Linked DNA regions of Homo sapiens: region 2 is linked to region 1. Evidence: promoter capture Hi-C in human tissues and cell types (Jung and others, 2019). All regions are on one chromosome and are shown on one strand. Each heading gives the region's core, a stretch centred on a gene start or on the middle of the fragment in contact. The rest is flanking DNA. Distances are from core to core; before and after follow the strand shown. Region 1 holds the start of INTS2 (integrator complex subunit 2). Region 2 overlaps MED13 (mediator complex subunit 13).

Region 1 (6,240 bases), core at 3,388-5,887:
GGATACGGCAGGACTCCAAGCTAGAGTTTTAAGTCAGACCATAAAAATCTGTTTTTGGGTTGGGCGCAGTGGCTCAAGCCTGTAATCTCAGCACTTTGGGAGGCTGAGGTGGGCAAATCACCTGAGGTCAAGAGTTTGAGACCAGCCTGGTCAACATGGTGAAAACCCATCTCTACTGAAAATACCCCAAAAAATTTAGCCAGGCATGGTGGTGGGTGCCTGTAATCCCAGTTACGCAGGAGGCTGAGGCAGGAGAATCGCTTGAACCCAAGAGGCAGAGGTTGCAATGAGCTGAGATTGTGCCACTGCACTCCAACCTGGGCGACAGACTGAGACTCCACCTCAAAAAAAAAAAATCTGTCTTAGGGCTTGGCACAGTGGCTCACGCCTGTAATCTCAGCACTTTGGGAGGCCAAGCCGTGCAGATCACTTGAGGTCAGGAGACTGACACAAGCCCGGCCAACATGGTGAAACCCCGTCTCTCCTAAAAATACACAAAAATTTAGTTGGGCATGGTGGCAGGTGCCTGTAATCCCAGCTACTTGGGAGGTTGAGGCAGGAGAATTGCTTGAACCTGGGAGGCGGAGGTTGCAGTGAGCCAAGATTGAGCCACTGCACTCCATCCAGGGTGACAGAGCGAGACTCTGTCTCAAAAAAATATAATCAATCAATCTGTCTTTTTAGTTCCATCCTAAAGAAATTCAACTTTATCCCAAAGCAGGGTAGTGTTTTAGTAGTTGGGCTGATTTATAAAACAGTCTCATACTTGAGCCTTGATTGGTGGAGCTATGTCAACCTGGAGGGATGTCTCTAATGCTGAACTAGAAGTCTTGGCTGGACCCAATTCTATTCAATGTTTTATCCATAATATTAATGAAGATATGATCTGCTAAGCTAAAACAGATAGCCAGTGTAAAAGAGTCAAAGATCTTTACAGGCTGAAACATGAAAGAATATATATATTTTTTGAGATGGAGTCTCACTCTGTTGCCCAGGCTAGAGTGCAGTGGCGCAATCTCGGCTCAATGCAACCTCCACCTCTCGGGTTCAAGCGATTCTCCTGCCTCAGCCTCCCAAGCAGCTGGGACTACAGGTGCACACCACCACACCCAACTAATTTTTGTATTTTTAGTAGAGACAGGGTTTCATCATATTGGCCAGGCTGGTCTAGAACTCCTGACCTCGTGATCCACCCGCCTCGGCCTCCCAAAGTGCTGGGATTACAGGCATGAGCCATCGTGCCCTCCTGAAAGACATCTTACAAGATAAAATAGTCACACTATAAAGAGCATCATGTTGAGCAAAATGGAGCTAGATGTCTTCTGAGATCCTTGTGCTTCTGGAATTCTATGACTATTTCTGAAGGACATTGGTCCTCACCTTTGTATAGTTAGGTCTTCTAACTGCTGGAAGCTCAATTACTCTGCAACCTACATTAAGCACCTAGTATACATGAAACATAATAGATATTCTAATGTGTTTTTCTGTTTTTCTCATTTTTTCATTACTTGTGTTTCTCTCTTCCTCCAGTCTGATTGAAAAATAAAGTAGAAGAATAAAAGCAAGCTGGTCAAGCCAGGTGCAGTGGCTTGCACCTGTAATCCTAGCACTTTGGTGGACTGAGGGGGGACAGATGGCTTGAGTCCAGGAGTTCAAGACCAGCCTGGCCACATAATGAAACCCTGTCTCTACAAAAAAATAGAAAAATTAGCCAGGTGTGGTGATGCATGACCATAGTCTCAGTTACTTGGGAGGCTGAAGTGGGAGGATCACCTGAGCCCAGGAGGTTGAGGTTGTAGTGAGCCAAGATCGCCCAACTGCACTGCCGCTCTTTTCTTGAGAACTTGTGTCGAAAAGGAAAAAAAAAGAGAGGCTGGGTACAGGGACTCATGCCTGAAATCCCAGCATTTTGGGAGGCCAAGGTGGGTGGATCAGCTGAGGTCAGGAGTTTGAGACCAGCCTGGCCAACATGGTGAAACCCTGTCTCTACTAAAAATACAAAAAATTAGCCAGGCATGGTGGCAGGCACCTGTAATCCCACCTACTCAGGAGGCTGAGGCAGGAGAATCGCTTGACCCTGGGAGGCGGAGGTTGCAGTGAGCCAAGATCGCACCACTGCACTCCAGCCTGGGTGACACAGCGAGACTCTGTCTCAAAAAAAAAAAAAAAAAAATTAGCCAAGTGTGGTGGTGCACACCTATTGTCCCAGCTACTCAGGAGGCTGAGGTGGGAGGATTGCTTCAGCTTGGGAGGCAGAGGTTGTAGTGAGCCGAGATCGTGCCACTGCACTCCAGCTTGGGCAACAGAACGAGACTCTGTCTCAAAAAAAAAAAAGTTTTATTGGCAAACATTACAATGTTTCAATGATTATAAAGATTTTTGCTAAATTAATACAAGGGGGAGAGATTAGAGTCTAGGATGACTTTTAGGTTTCTGGCTTGAGCAACTCAAGGTCAAGTTGGTGAACTGGAAGAAAAGGAGAGGGGGACTTGGAGGAAGTGTCAGCACTCATTATGTGACACTGCAGCCATCTCATTCAGTGATTTTTCTGTTTCTCCATAGATCAAGATGGAGATACTGAATCTGCATGATGTTTCTCCATTAGTGAACAGAGGATCATAATTAGAGTTGGAAAGGATCTTTAAAATCACTTAGTTCATACCCACATCTTCCTCTCATTCGTCCCTCAAACCAATGTTTGCACTGCCTTCACACTTTTCCTGTGAAATGACCATCCATGGAGATGAAATTGCTTACCCTCTCTCAGTTTCCACAATTGCAAAAGGCGAATATTACCTACGTCACAAGATTGAATCAGATAATATATATAAAGCATTTATTACAGTGCCTAGCAAGTGTTCAATAAATAAATCCCAAATATTAGCTTAAAAATGCTAGGACAGTACAGTGTGCAACCCATTAATAGAGTGTGAAATCAGTTTTAGTGTGCAGTGACCAGCAGTTTTTTAAAGAGAAGTAGAAACATGTAGTGTGTGTGTTATTATACGAAATATTTGTTTCCATGTAAATGTGGGTTTATATGTTATATATTTATATGTTTATATAGCATATAAATTTATACACTTACACTTATTTTTGTATGTGGATATATACATATGTTTTTTCTGGGTCACAATGTGAAATGTATTATTGTGGGTCAGGTGGAAAAAATTTTCAGAAGCATTGCAACACACAATTCTTTTCTTCCTTTGCTGATCTATGTTGAAAGTCATATATATATATATATTTTTGAGATGGAGTCTGGCTCTGTTGCCCAGGCTGGAGTGCGGTGGCATGATCTCTGCTCACTGAAACATCTGCCTCCTAGGTTCAAGTGATTTTCCTGTCTCAGCCTCCGAAGTAGCTGGGACTACAGGTGCTCCATCACCACGCTGGGGTAATTTTTTTTTTTTTTTTTTTTTTTTGAGACGGAGTTTCGCTCTTATTGCCTAGGCTGGAGTGCAATGGCACGATCTCAGCTCACCACAACCTCCGCCTCCCAGGTTCAAGCAATGCTCCCGCCTCAGCCTCCCAAGTAGCTGAGATTACAGGCGCACACCACCACGCCTGGCTAATTTTTGCATTTTTAGTAGAGGCGGAGTTTCACCATGTTGGTCAGGCTGGTCTCGAACTCCTGGCCTCGTGATCTGCCTGCCTCGGCCTCCCAAAGTGCTAGGATTACAGGCATGAGCCATCGTGCTCGGCCTAATTTTTATATTTTTTGTAGAGTTGGGGTTTAGTCATGTTGCGTCAGGCTGGTCTCGAACTCCTGACCTCAGGTGATCCGCCCGCCTCGGCTTCCCAAAGCGCTGGGATTACAGGCATGAGACACCACGCCCGGCTCTGACTTTATTTTTAAAGAGGTTATAAAGTGCTATATCTTTGTAAAATATTTTTATTTCCAGCTCCTAGCACAATATCTGGTAAATAGAAGTTGCCAAATAAACGTTGATCGAACTAGGAACAATAAATAGTATGAAGACATATGGACTAGCGGTTCTTCATATATAGACTAGTGGTTCTTTTCTGAGTGATCAGACTTCCTTTGAGAAGTTGTTGAAAGTTTTGGACCCTCTTCCCAGAAGAAGTGCCGAGCACTCAGTTCTGAACGGATTCCAGAGAATTCCTGAATCCCCGTGCATTGCCTCTCTAAGGTTCTATGGGTCCCCCAAGTTAAGAACCTGAAAGGAAGGTGTTTAACTTCTGACAGCGGAGGTGTGAGGTCAAGAGCGGAAGAAAGTTTGGGGTTAGATCACTTTTAAAATTCTCCCACAAATCCTGGGATTCTAGAATTTTGGTTCTGGGAAGGCACAGGCAAAGATTTAAAGAGTACAGTTTGGTACCACTAGTGTCAAAGAATAGTGGGAACGATTTTAACACACGTTATGCCATTTGAATGCCATGGCAATCCTGTGATGATGAAATTTAAGTTCTGAGGGGCTCAGTGGCTTGCTTGTCTAAAAGGAAGGAGCTGGTAGGCTCTGGAAATCAGAGCCTACCAGAATCACATTTCTAAATTTTTGGCGAACAAGTAGGGCAGGGCAAATAAAGTGGAGAAAGGGGCGGGGCCGCGCACGCGCACAGTTGCATTGGCGCCGACGTCTCTGCCTTTCCTCTCGCAGCCACCCTTCCTCTCAGACCAGTACGGTGGCCGACGGGAGTCAGACGCTGGGGATGAATGAAGGTGCTGGGTGCAGGTTGAAAAAGTCTCCCGCTTTTCCGTTCCTACAGTCCCGGTTCTGCCTTTGTGTGGTGCCCCCATCCTTCCCACTTTGTATCGACAACCCGGTTGGTCCCGGCGTCTGAGTTCTTGGTGTCCGAGTCGACTCGAGGCACAACTAGGGTTTGGGGTTCCGGATATCGCCTAGGCCCAACATCGGACCGCGCTCTCGATTTCTGCCGCGTCCCGCCTCTAGGACGCGGAGTCCGTGTGCGGTTCCGTGAGGCTGGAGGGTAGATCTTAAGGTATGAAGCGTCCGCTTCTCTGGCCTCAGCGCGTTCCTAGGTCCGTGTCGGAGCCTGGCCAGACTTTGCTCAGCCTGAGGGACTTATTGGTTCTAGTTGCGCCCGGGGCGAGACGGAGGAGCACGCAGGTCTTGGCTCCTCTGCTCCAGTCAGCCCGCCCCTCTGTTAAAAGAGCAGCCCCTCCCTGAAAGCAAAGCAGTTTTTACCCACGACTTTTACCCACGCTGCTGCTAGTCGGTCGGCCTTGAGAGGGGACTGCTTTGGCTGCCAGCTCACTGCCTTTTTGTTTACTTTTTGTGCCTTGGATGATTCCTGGAGACAGAGAAGTGCGCTAATGAGACGCGTCTTTCTCACATAGCACCCACACATCTGCTTTTTACCCGGTAACACAGGGGACATAGGATAGTGTTGTGGCCTCCAGAGCCTTGAATCTGGCATTGGTTCTGCCCAGTGATTTGCTAGTTTTTCCACCGACTCATGGAGGGTGAGAAAGAGAAGCCCAATAGTTCTTGATGTATATCGGGGTAGGCATGTGAAACTATCGGGGTATGAAAGAAAGCACTTAACTATGACCATTCACTTTTGTTTACATTTTGTGGAGCTCATGTGACTGATATAGTGGAGAAAGTCTTGGACTGGGATTTTAGTAGATGAGGATTCAGCCTTGGATTGTGCCTCTAACTAGTAATACTATTTTGGGCGTGTTACTTCATCTCTCTGGGCTTCATATTCCTTCTTTGTAAAATATGAGTATTAGAGCAGAAGATTCCTGAGGCTGGAAGAGACATTAATATACTCTGTTTTCTTTCCCATTTCCCAGGTGACAGTATAAACCTAGGGAGACAGAGAAGCCTTGTCTTGATTGTGCCAGGAACATTGCCAACATAGGGACCTATTAAAGATACACCACATTTTTCAGGGTTTTTAGAAAGTTGGGTGTTCATACATGTGAAAGTTAAACTCCTACTTTCATTTGTATTTTTACCATTAGGATCAACAAACAGTAATAATGACTGAATGTACAAGTCTTCAGTTTGTCAGCCCTTTTGCTTTTGAGGCAATGCAGAAGGTGGATGTTGTTTGCCTGGCATCTTTAAGTGATCCAGAATTAAGACTTCTTCTGCCCTGTTTGGTACGGATGGCACTTTGTGCACCTGCTGACCAGAGCCAAAGCTGGGCTCAGGATAAGAAACTCATCCTTCGCCTTCTTTCTGGAGTGGAAGCTGTCAACTCCATTGTTGCATTGTTGTCCGTGGACTTTCATGCTTTAGAACA
Region 2 (6,241 bases), core at 2,263-4,762, 100 kb before region 1:
ACTTAAACAATAAAATTGAAAAAGTAATACACATTAAGTTGGTCAGAAGTGCACATAAAGATTTAAAAAACACATTTCTAGAAATCTAAAAAAAGGAAAGCTGCCTTTTTCCAAATCTCTCTCAGCAAAGATAACCACCACTGACAGCTTATTGTGGTTTATTGTGGTTTCTTCTAAAAAAGAGAAAAAAAAAAAAGAAAAGAAAAACTTATGCCAAAGAAGCTTATATTTATAAAAATGTATTTTTATTTGTATAAATGTGATACCTACTTTTCCATTATAGTACTTTTGAGTGAAACTAATTCACTAGTCACAAAGGTAATTGGTTTTCCTGTCCCATTTTTTTCCTTTCAGCTGGTGTCCGAATGATCTACCCAGCATGCTTTGTTCTAGTCCCTCAGTCAGACATTCCTACTCCTAGCCCTGTGGGATCCACTCACTGTTCATCTTCTTGCTTGGGTGTCCACCAAGTGCCTGCTTCCACAAGAGATCCTGCTATGTCTTCGGTTACGCTTACACCACCTACGTCTCCTGAGGAAGTCCAAACAGGTATAGCAGTAATTTGTCTCATCAGCTCTGGTAATTTGTTATTTTGTGTACAGTAAGTACTTAAGAAATAATTTATTTTGAAATAGTTTCAAACTTCTTGAGAATTTACAAGTGTAGTACAAGTAATTTCCTTAGCCATATTTCCAAACTGTTATTATTTACTCCATCACCCTGTCTGTATGATGTACATTCATTATCATTGGTCTTTTTCTGAACCATTTGAGAACAACCTACAGACATGATGTCCCATCACTCCTGTGTACTCAGTGTGTTTCCCAGAATTAAGGACACTCTCCTATACAACTATTACTCGATCCTCTTAGTCAGAAAATCAGCATTGATACACTGCCATCCAGTTTGCATTCCCTGTTTTAGATATTTTGCTTTCTGTATTTAAAAGTAGCGTGCTTTTATTTTTAAAGGTTTATGTGTTTATCTATAATTAAAATTACTCCAACAGAGCAGCCCATTGCTGTGTTCTAATTCTTAGCCCTTAAGTCCTACAAAAATAAACCCAAGCTTTTACAGTAACTGTCAATACAGAACTAAAGCGTTTTAGCTATTAAAAGGGGTTTAGTTACCAAGGTGCTTATTTTCAGCAAAACGCCCTGTTACTCAGAAGAACATACGCATATACTAAAGTTCTGACCCATCGATTCATGCAACAGTTTATATCTCTGCCCTCCCTCCATCTACCTTTAAAACAAAAACACAGAAGAACTTTTTACAATGGAGGAGAAACGTATAAAAACACAGAAGAGCTTTTTACAATGGAGGGGAAATATGCTCATGCTCAGCTGACCTTACAAAAAAGACTGTCTAATTTCCAACTAAATGAGAACACTAAAGTGTTTGGCTAAAATCCAGCAATGATTGACTGACCCAGGTCAGAGGCTGGCAGGGACAGAAGGGCCAGAGTGCTGCCGCTGCAGGGGCTCATCCTGGCCTCCAAACCCCACCTTGATGTGGAAGCCAGGCTCTGTGCAGCAGCTCCATGGCTGGTGTCCAGGGCCCCTTCGCACTACTCCGAAGTCCTTCCAGTCTCCCCACCTCTGGCCAGCCTCTGACCTTGATGATGTCACTCTGGGCATCAGGATAGTCTGGTTTGCTTATACAGCATGATCCATGGGACACCTCCTTCCTTGCCCTCAGCCCACCTCCCCCGACACGCCACCGTGTGCTGGCCCTGCCTGGCTCCTGAGAACCCCACTCTTGGTACTGAGAGTGGTAGGTTACAGAGATGTACTTGATTGCCACATTTGCCTAATGAGATCTGGTTCCAAAAAGTAGCATGCTTTTTATCTCAAAATATAAATAATTTTACCAGATAGCTGGAGCAGCTTGTATCACAAATTAATAAAAAACCCAAATAATGTTACTTTAAACCTACCTTTATTCTCCTACAGCCTGTTTTTTTGTTTTGTTTTCAGTTGATCCTCAGTCTGTCCAGAAGTGGGTCAAATTTTCTTCAGTATCTGATGGCTTCAACTCCGATAGTACTAGCCACCATGGTGGGAAAATACCCAGAAAATTAGCAAATCATGTGGTGGATAGAGTTTGGCAAGAATGCAATATGAACAGAGCACAGAACAAGTGTGTATTTTCATTTATAAGTTCAAAAATTGCATGTTGATAATTACTTATAATTAGAAGATATCTAAAGTATAAACAGTCATTTGTTTGATTTTTCTTTAACTCATAATGTTGATCTTTAAAATTAATTTCAATGCTACATTGAGGTTTGATAGAAAATTTTATGAATTTTAAAGAATTTTGTAACTTTAAATCTTAGGAGGAAGTATTCTGCTTCATCAGGTGGTCTATGCGAAGAAGCGACAGCTGCTAAAGTGGCATCCTGGGATTTTGTTGAAGCCACACAAAGAACAAATTGCAGTTGTTTGAGGTAGATTATTTCCCGATCGATTGATGCCTATGTGTGATAGTTTGTTACGCCACTGAATGCTTATGCCCACTTTATTTGAAACAGCTTACATGAACATATGTCAGGATTTTTTTTCAAAAGAAAATTCAGGAAAAATATTTCAGGAATTTGAAGCTGATTATAGAAGTACATGTAAATATAAGCTTTCAGTTCATTCACTGTTACCAGAGGCAGACTCTGAAAGTTTTGTTTCCTAGTAGCTAAATAAAAGACAATTTTATATGGAGCTATGGTATATATAGTATCTATAAGCTATACAGCCATATAAATCTCTTGAGAAAAGCATTCCTTCCTCAATGGCACTACCTGAGAAATTTATCCCAAGAGTTCTTTCTTTTTTTAAAAAATGAAGAGACAGGGTCTTGCTTTGTTACCCAGGCTGGAGTGATCATGGCTCACTGCAACCTCAAACTTCTGGCCTCAGTCGATCCTCCTGCCCCAGCCTCCCAAGTAGCTAGGGTTATAGGCATGTGCCACCACACCTGGCTAATTAAAAGAAAAAAAAATTCGTAGAGAGGGGATCTTGGTATGTTGTCCAGGCTTATTTCGAACTCCTAACCTCAAACAGTCCTCCCCTTGGCTTTCCAAAGTGCTATGATTACAGGTGTGAGCCACCATATCTGGCCTACAGTAATCTTTTTTTATTTTTTATTTTTTGAGATGGAGTCTTGCTCTGTCCCCTGGTCTGGAGTGCAGTGGCGTGATCTCGGCTCACTGCAAGCTCCACCTCCCGGGTTCACGCCATTCTCCTGCCTCAGCCTCCCAAGTAGCTGGGACTACAGGCGCCCGCCACCATGCCCAGCTAATTTTTTTTTTTTTTTTAAAGTAGAGACAGGGTTTCACTGTGTTAGCCAGGATGGTCTCAATCTCCTGACCTCATGATACAATCTTTTTTTAATAGTAAATACAGTGTTGGGTTTTGAAGAGTAATTTCATTTCTTTTTTTTTAAGCTTTTATTTTTGGTTCAGGGTTACATGTGCAGGTTTGTGAAATAGGTAAAGTCATGTCACAAGGGTTTGCTGTATAGATTATTTTGTCACTCAGATACTAAGCCTAGTACCCAGTAGTTACTTTTTCTGCTCCTGTTGCTCCTGCCAGCCTCCACCCTCAAGTAGACCCCAGTGTCTGTTGGACCCTTCTTTGTGTCCATGAGTTCTCATCATTTAGCTACCACTTATAGGTGAGAACAGGCAGTAATTGGCTTTCTGTTCCTGTGCTAAGGATAATGACCTCCAGCTCATCCATGTTCCTGCAGATGACATGATCTCATTCTTTTTTTATGGCTGCACAGTATTCCATGGTGTATATGTACCACATTTTCTTTATCCAGTCTGTCATTGATGGGCATTTAGGTTGATTCCATGTCTTTGCTATTGTGAATAGTGCTGCAGTGGACATTTGCGTATATGTGTCTTTATGGTAGAATGATTTATATTCCCTGGGTATATAACCAGTAATGGGGTTGCTGGGTCGGATGGTAGTTGTAGCTCTTTGAGGAATCACCACTGCTTTCCACAGTGGTTGAACTATTTTCACTTCCATCAACAGTGTATAAATGTTTCCTTCTCAACCTCGCCAGCATCTGTTATTTTTTGACTTTTTAATAATAGCCATTCTGACTGGTGTGAGATGTTATCTCATTATGGTTTTGATTTGCATTTCTCTAATGATCAGTGATGTTGAGCTTTTTTACATATGCATGTTGGCTGCACATATGTCTTCTTTTGAAAAGTTTTCATGTCCTTTGCCCACTTTTTAACAGGATTTTTTTTATATATAAATTTAAGTTTTTTTAGATACTGGATATTAGACATTTGTCAGCATAGTTTGCAAAACTTTTCTCCCATTATGTAGGTTATCTGTTTAGTCTGTTGATAATTTCTGTGGCTGTGCAAATGCTCTTTAGTTTAATTAGATCCCATCTGTCAGTTTTTGCTTTTGTTGTGATTGCTTTTGACATCTTCGTCATGAAATTTTTGCCCATTTCTGTGTCCAGAGTGGTATTGTCTAGGTTGTCTTCCAGGGTTTTTATAGTTTTGGGTTTTACATTTCAGTCTTTAATCCATCTTGAGTTGATGTTTATGTATTAAGGAAGGGGTCCGATTTCAGTCATCTGCATATGACTAGCCACTTATACCAGCACCATTTATTGAATAGGGAGTCCTTTCCCCATTGCTTGTTTTTGTGAGCTTTGTCAAAGATCAGATGGTTGTGGCAGTGCAGCCTTATTTCTGGGCTCTCTATTCTGTTTCATTGGTCTATGTGTCTGTTTTAGTACCAGTACCATGCTGTTTTGGTAACTGTAGTCCTATAGTATTGTTTAAGCCAGGTAACATGATGCCTCCAGCATTGTTCTTTTTGCTTAGGATTGCCTTGGCTATTTGGGCTCTTTTTGAATTTCATAGAAATTTAAAAATAGTTTTTCCTAGTTCTGTGAAGAATGTCATTGGTAGTTTGATAAGAATAGCATTGAATCCAAATTGCTTTGGGCAGTATGGCCATTTTAAGGATATTGATTCTTCCTATCCATGAGCATGGAATGTTTTTCTGTTTTTTTGCATCATCTCTGATTTCTTTGAGCAGTGTTTTGTAATTCTTATTGTAGAGATCTTTAACCTTTCTGGTAAGCTGTATTCCCAGTTATTTTACTCTTTTTGTGGCAGATGTGACTGGGATTGCATTTCTGATTTGGCTCTCATCTTGGCTGTTGTTGGTATATAGGGATGCTAGTGATTTTTGTACAGTGATTTTGTATCCTGAAATTTTACTGAAGTTGTTTATCAGCTGAAGGAGCTTTTGGGCTGAGACTGTGAGGTTTTCCAGGTCTAGAATCATGTTGTCTGCCAACAGGGTTACTTTTGTTTCCTTTCTTCCTATTTGAATGCCCTTTATTTTTTTCTCCCTGATTCTTCTGGCCAGGACTCCCCATACTATTTTGAATAGGAGTGAGAGGAGGCATTCTTATCTTGTGCCACTTTTCAAGGGGAGTGCTTCCAGCTACAGTCTTTTTTTTTTTTTTTTTAATGATAAATACAGTGATGGATTTTGTGGAGTAATTTCTTATAACATTCTTTGGGCAGCTGTAGGTGAAATGTTGAAATAAGATTCAGAAAATAGGATTCTGTAAGGGAAGAACTGTCACAAGGGAGCAAAACTCAAAGCATGACAAAACTGTCACGCTTTCTAATGGATTATATTGGTTGAATGATTGGTAGAAGAATAGATGAACGTGGAATTCTTTAGAAATTTATTTAGTTTATAAAGGCCTTTTGATAAGGTTTGGTTATGAGAAGTTTTAAAATTATGTTGCCTAGAGTTTATTATTTTATCCTGCAGATTAAACATAGATCATAGGCTTTTGCATTCAAGTAAACAGTAATGGCCTTGACATCCCTAGTCAGAACTTGTGATGGAATAGATGGTCACCTGTCTTTCTCATGGAAGTGAACCAAACAAATGGAGTGCCTGCAGGTTAGGGCCAAGGTTTTTCTTACATTTGCTCTGTTGGTTTGAATATATAATAACAGACTCTCTCAAGTGTGCTGTTATGTTTTTGCATAAATTGAATATTCTTATGGAGGCTCTTTGGATTAAAGAATACGTAATTTTTAAAAGTCTGGCAACTTTGTTGAAAATTTACCTCTGTTAGAGAGATTGGAATAAAAACAAGGATATATTTAGCTATTGTTTAGCAGTTTAAAATAGCTAAAAAAACCACACCTAATCTGAACATAATTTGTATAAGAATG

What was found. Contacts are between HindIII fragments. The study calls those that stand out against the background at their distance.
Region 2: a fragment that was not itself captured here is called in contact with the fragment with the promoter of INTS2 in region 1 in 2 of the 25 tissues and cell types used here (adrenal gland and liver).

Annotation. Positions count from the first base shown.
Region 1 is chr17:61,926,379-61,932,618 of GRCh38, reverse strand. INTS2 (integrator complex subunit 2) reads left to right here and starts at 4,637. Exons shown (of 25, transcript NM_001351695.2): 1 at 4,637-4,965; 2 at 5,957-6,240. The coding sequence starts at 5,975. RefSeq lists a silencer at 4,507-4,606. The HindIII fragment of the contact is 16,998 bases long and covers 1-6,240 here.
Region 2 is chr17:62,025,752-62,031,992 of GRCh38, reverse strand. MED13 (mediator complex subunit 13) reads left to right here. Exons shown (of 30, transcript NM_005121.3): 6 at 355-549; 7 at 1,980-2,142; 8 at 2,342-2,452. Among named protein-coding and RNA genes, the nearest start is that of MED13, 36 kb to the left of the region's middle. The HindIII fragment of the contact is 3,322 bases long and covers 1,852-5,173 here.